2 separate regions of the Homo sapiens genome follow, and region 1 is linked to region 2. The links are contacts of gene promoters, found by promoter capture Hi-C in blood cells and fetal thymus (Javierre and others, 2016). All regions are on one chromosome and are shown on one strand. The core of a region is centred on a gene start or on the middle of the fragment in contact, and the rest is flanking DNA. Distances in the headings are between cores, read along the strand shown.

The links. Contacts are between HindIII fragments. The CHiCAGO score rates a contact against its expected background, and 5 or more counts as called.
Region 1: the fragment with the promoter of RPL34 here is called in contact with the fragment with the promoter of EIF4E in region 2 in 1 of 17 cell types (neutrophils); the score reaches 13.8 in neutrophils.

Annotation. Positions count from the first base shown.
Region 1 is chr4:108,619,186-108,621,885 of GRCh38, forward strand. RPL34 (ribosomal protein L34) reads left to right here and starts at 1,391. Exons shown (of 5, transcript NM_001319236.2): 1 at 1,391-1,415. It overlaps RPL34-DT (RPL34 divergent transcript), which reads right to left and starts at 1,272. Exons shown (of 4, transcript NR_026968.1): 1 at 1,123-1,272. RefSeq lists enhancers at 929-2,128, 1,354-1,403. The HindIII fragment of the contact is 3,742 bases long and covers 921-2,700 here.
Region 2 is chr4:98,927,832-98,930,531 of GRCh38, forward strand. It overlaps EIF4E (eukaryotic translation initiation factor 4E), which reads right to left and starts at 1,302. Exons shown (of 7, transcript NM_001968.5): 1 at 1,264-1,302. The coding sequence starts at 1,281. RefSeq lists an enhancer at 1,696-2,700. The HindIII fragment of the contact is 5,241 bases long and covers 1-2,700 here.

The DNA of each region.
Region 1 (2,700 bases), core at 141-2,640, 9.7 Mb after region 2:
ATTTGTCTCTCTATGCAAGCTTCCATCTCAATGCCTGGCACAGAGACGAAAAGGATTTCAGAGGACAAAAATCAAAGGACTGGAAAGGAGGGAAGTAGCTGATGACAAGGTCGGGGGAGAAGCAGCTATTTGAGAGTGAGCAGAGGGAAGGATATAACCAGAGCCTTCCATCTGGTGTTGTGACAAAGATGGCAGTGATGTGAGGCTTGATAGAATCAATAGGCCTCACAGTTCAAGACAGACTACATGCCCTCAGTCACTTGCCTGCTTTCTTGGTTTGCTAGATGGATTAGAAATACTAGAAGGAAAGTTGAGTGGGTACTGGGATATCCTATCCAAATCCTCTCTTCTGGGGCAATGCAGCTGCCTCACAGCAACCACGTTGTGGATCACCTGACCCCGCCTTTCTCAGCTTCCTGGAGGTGCATTCTAAGAGCGCTCCCCATAAGCCAACACTCAAGTCTCTTCGAGGTGTGTTTCCAGGGAGCCTGATCTAAGATTAAAAACTTAAAGGCCCCTTTTAGAATTGTCTTTTACAGCCCAGGCAAAGAGTTCTTTACTTTTTTAGAGGTCATGAATCCCTTTGACAAGGTGATGAAAGCCAGGGACCCTCTTCTCAGAAAAATACACACGTGCGCTTAATGTAAAATTTTACATACTGTTTTAAAGGTTAAACTTTACCACCCATGAAAAGCCTCAAGTAGTTCTTTGTACATAATCATAAGATTAGCAACCATTTACTGAGCACTTCCTCTCTATAAGACCCTGTGCTAAGTGCTTTAACTTCATAATGCCTTTGATCATGACATAACATGGCACGGTAGTTCCTAATATCTTCCTTTTAGAGATTTAAGGGCTTGCTCAAAGTAACATAGCTAATAATTAGCAGACACTGGATTAAAATCCCAATTTGTTTGTAAAGCTTGTGCTCTGAATAAATGACAAGGAAAGAGAAGGGAAGGTTGAAGAAGGGAAGGTTCTTGAAGGTCCCTGGTCCTTGAAGGTCCCTTAACCATAAATGTCAAGAGTTGGGATTTAAACCCAGGTCTAACGCCAGAGCTGGCGCCCTTTAGATTAAAAGTGCAGTGTCCATGACAACGAAAGAAGTTGATTTTGTCCCACCTTTGCTCTTTGCGGCTTTTCATTTGCGTTTGTTTCCACAGCGATTTCCAATAGATTTCTGCGTGGCCTTGACACAGACAGCTAGTGTGAATCCCCGCCCACAGAGGGGCGGCACGTTGGTTGCCGTACAACGTGGTGGTTCCCTGCATCTCTGCCCACGTCGGAGAGGTGCGTCGGCTTCCGTACAACACGGATACTCTCTCTCTGACGCAACTTCCTGTCCTGCGCAATTCTATTTGACCTTTGAACTGGCAAAGGCTTTTTTCTTCCTCTTCCGGGGACGTTGTCTGCAGGTATGGATGTTGTTCTCTTTTCCCTGTCTTTATTTCCTTACCAATCGGCTGCCATCCGAGGAGCTGAGGAAGCCTAGAGCTCTCAGAAGCAGTCCTTTGAGCTGGTGTAGGGGTAAGGGGCACAACAGGGAGGTTGGTGGTGAGGAAGTTCCTTACTTTGATCTTTGGAAATCCCTTGTTCCTGGTGGCACCTCCAAAGCCGTGAGTAGCCACAGCTCACCACCCGGGACTTTGCTGCATTCCAAGTGTAGCGTTTGGAGACTAACGAGTTGTGGTTTGGCGGTTTGAGTCTGGAAAATCGCCAAACGTTTTCATATTTTACACCCACGTTTTCACAGCACGCCTGTACGTGTCCTTAGTCTTTGGGAGGGCAGGGTCCGGCGAGTTCGGGTGGTTTCGCTATTTGGCTTCTGCGTCCAAGGCCCATGTCAAGGAAGAGAAAAATGTGTTAGAAGTTTCTGTCTTGCTTTTGGAGATGCAAACAGAATAATGGCTTCATAAATCACTCGCACTGGTTTTACGTGTCAAGTTTTGGTGTCTGGTAATTCTGTTTTAGTTTAATTTTAGTGAGAGGCTTGTGACAACAAATGAGGTGGTTACAAGGGGTGGAATGGGAAGATTAAATTAGTTCAAGTATTGATTATGTTTTACGTTGGGTAGTTCCCTTAACGAAGTTGCTCGTATGCATATCTGTATAACCGATTTGCTAAATAACATCACGATGTTTCCAGAAGTGGGAAGAAAGCAGGTGCCATAACCCAAAGAAACTTGTGTAATATCAAAATTAGTATTAAAGGGTATGCCTTTACGCAGGTGGTGCTTTAGGGCAAGACATTGAACCCTGATATGTGCCAGGCATTGTGTTGGGACGGATAGCCCACGTCGTTTAATCCTAATGACAGCTGTATAAAGTAGACAGAATTCCCATGTTAGAGATAAGGAGGCTAGCTCCTTGCCCTTTATATTCCCAGTAAATGGCATAGCTAAGGATTCGACTTCAGAGCTCACTTTTTGTGCTCTTTGTTTAAAGCGGTGTTTCTCCAACTGGGCTCGTGGCACTTTTCTGGACACCACTCCAAACAAAATTAGACTCTGAGTAAGGAGCCTGGTCATCAGAACGTTAAGGAAGTGCCACGTTTGATTACCATCAGGAAAGCTAACATTCTTGGCCTCTTGTTTATCAGTCACCTTTAAATACAAGTAGTTTTAAAATGTGGAATAATACATCTTAATTTAAGGGTGTTACATACAAGGATATGTATGTGAATGAAATAGACCACATGAT
Region 2 (2,700 bases), core at 52-2,551:
CACACAAGATATCTTCACTTAGCTGTGTCGTTTCTAAAAAGGCAACAGGGCCCAGAAGTTTCAGTGAGCCAGTCCTGGCAAACCCAAATTATGAAAAATATACCCTCTGCTTAAAGATTAACTACAAACCTACCCTGGGACCAGCTTGCTTCAGTTAAGTTTAAAATGGTGCCTAAATTGAAATGAAAGTCTGTAGCATAGATAAAGAGAAAAAAAAAGTCAAATGGAAAAGTAAATTTAAAAGTTTCTATTTCCAATAAACTGCGTCTCAGAAATCTTCCAGGAGATAAAGACTCGGAAGAACAGAGGGATTGAGACCCATTCGCATTCTCTGAGGCGTGCGCACTACGCGGAAAGGATGAATGAATGGAAGACGGGCGCGTGTGAAATGCAGCAGGTCCGGCCGGCAAGCCGACCGGCTACAGCGATCTGTAGGCCTCGCTCCTCCCCCTTCCCTCCTCCATGACAGCCCAGTCCCAAGCATGGAGGGGCGAGGACAATGTGATACCCCTTCTCACCACCACCATCCCTCATTCTACTTGGAGAGCTTCACCGTGACACACGAGTGTTCCTTCCCACCCCAGACCTTTCTCGCTTCCCCTGGCGCAAACACCGGCAACTCTCCGGCGCGCTGGATTAACAGACGCTCGCCCCTCTCAACTCCCCTAAGCGAGGTCGAAGCTCCTCCGCGCGTGCCGCGGCACCACTCCCGCCTAACCCACCCTCCGGCAACACTCGCCCACCAGCTCCCCAGTCCACCGGTCTAAGGAAGACGTGCGCGCGCCCCGCACCCGAGCCCCGGAGCTGGGGTTCTGCAGGGAGGGAAAGGCTGCTCCAGGGCTCCCTCCTCCATCTCACTCCAGGCCGGCTCGCCGCCCACCCTGCCTGCGGATCCCAGTACTCGCTGGGAGCCGGCCCTGCGCCTTCCTATCATGAAGACACCATCCTCGCATACCCAGCCCAGAACCCCAGCTACCCTCCACCCTGTAGACACCTCGCGGTTCCGCAGGAGGCGCCACGCCGCCCCTCCCCCACACCGCTCCCCCAGTTCTCGGGCCCCCACCAGAAAGTGTGCGCTACACGCCGCCTCGGCCATCCTCCGGGACGTCCCCACTTGTCCGCGGGAGGTCAGGTCCAACATGAAGGGGAAGGGGCGGCAAGGGGTACAGTGCGCGCCGGGAACGCCGTCCCGCGGAGTCCCCCAGTCAGAAGGAAGACGGAGCGCGGGGACCCGTGGGGGTGGGGGCCAAAGGCAATACTCACCGGTTCGACAGTCGCCATCTTAGATCGATCTGATCGCACAACCGCTCCAGAAGGGGGGGTAAGAGGAAAAAAATGAGATTCAAACCGGATTGGCCAGCTTCTGGCCACGTGACGGATATGTCCGTTTGGCCCTGGCGGCACCTGCGCAAGACTGCGGCTGCGTGAGTAACGAGAGGCTTCTGGGAAGTGGAGTCTCTCCCCCACCTTTTTTTTTTTTTTTTTTTTAAGGTAAAGAAATTTTTTTTAAAAAGGACTGGTCACGTGGCCGATGGGTAGGGTGCGCGGTTCTCAACGCGGCGGACACTCGCTTGCTGGAGGGTGGTTTCAGTCCTCTGCTCTTCCGCCTGGATAGCTGCGGTCACACTTACTGCCAGGCAAGCCTACTGTGCCCTTTGTCGCCCTGTCCTCCCATCTTCCCCGGAAGGTTGGGAACTGCAGGCTCAGCACACACAATAAGGCTTCATTTGCTTAGTTGAGGTCCCAGGACAAGTTGCCTGTGTGTTTATTTAGTTTTCTTTTGATCTCCCACCATTTTCTCTTAGTTTCAAAAAGAGGCGGCGATGCAGAGTCGTTTAGGCAATCAACCCTCCCACGTCCCCTGGCTCAGCTAATGCTGGTGGTCATTCGTTGCCATTTCTGCGAAAGGGGACGGACGGAACCGCCCGCAGTACCCGCTTGCCACCGGCTGGACGAGGGGGAGGGACGACAGCTTTTACTGTCCCAAATCCTGAGATTAAGACCTCAGGGCTAAATCTTGCGTGGCGGTAAAAATTATTTGGAAGTTCTGTGCAACCGTTCCAATATTCCGCTTTTACGTGCACGGAAATAGCCTAAGTCCAGATGCCAGCCAGGGAAGCCACTCCGGGCCCCGCTGACTAAGCCCTGGACTGATGGTCTGGAGTCTTTAGGCCGGGTCAACTATGACTCTTGACGTTGACTCATTCTCCTTAGGCGAGTGACTTAATCGCTCGGCGTCTCAGCTTTTTTATTTATGAACCAAAGGTGATGATACACTTACCTCACAAGGGTGTGCTTCGTAATGACTGTAACCGGCTTTGAAAATGCATCGGACTCTAGAAATGATTCATAATAAGCAACTGCGTGCCTTCCTAAAGATCAAGTGCTTCTGCTTTTTTTTTTTAGCAAAGTTTAAATTTTTTTCTGTTTACTTTGTTTGATTATGATGTACACCAGTGTAGTTTTAAATGTTCAGGACCATTTTTTTTCCTTTACAACTGCAGCTGCCCTCAATAGAGGCTTTAATGTTCATGAAATTATTGTTATGCTCACAACAATCACTGGCAATCAGAAATTTGTCCCCACACTGGCATCCTACATTTCCTTTCCCTCTAAGATACTGTGCTGTCATTTCTCAAGACCGTGTTTTTTGCACAGTTTGGCTACTAATAACAACAAATAGAGATGAAGAAATCTAGT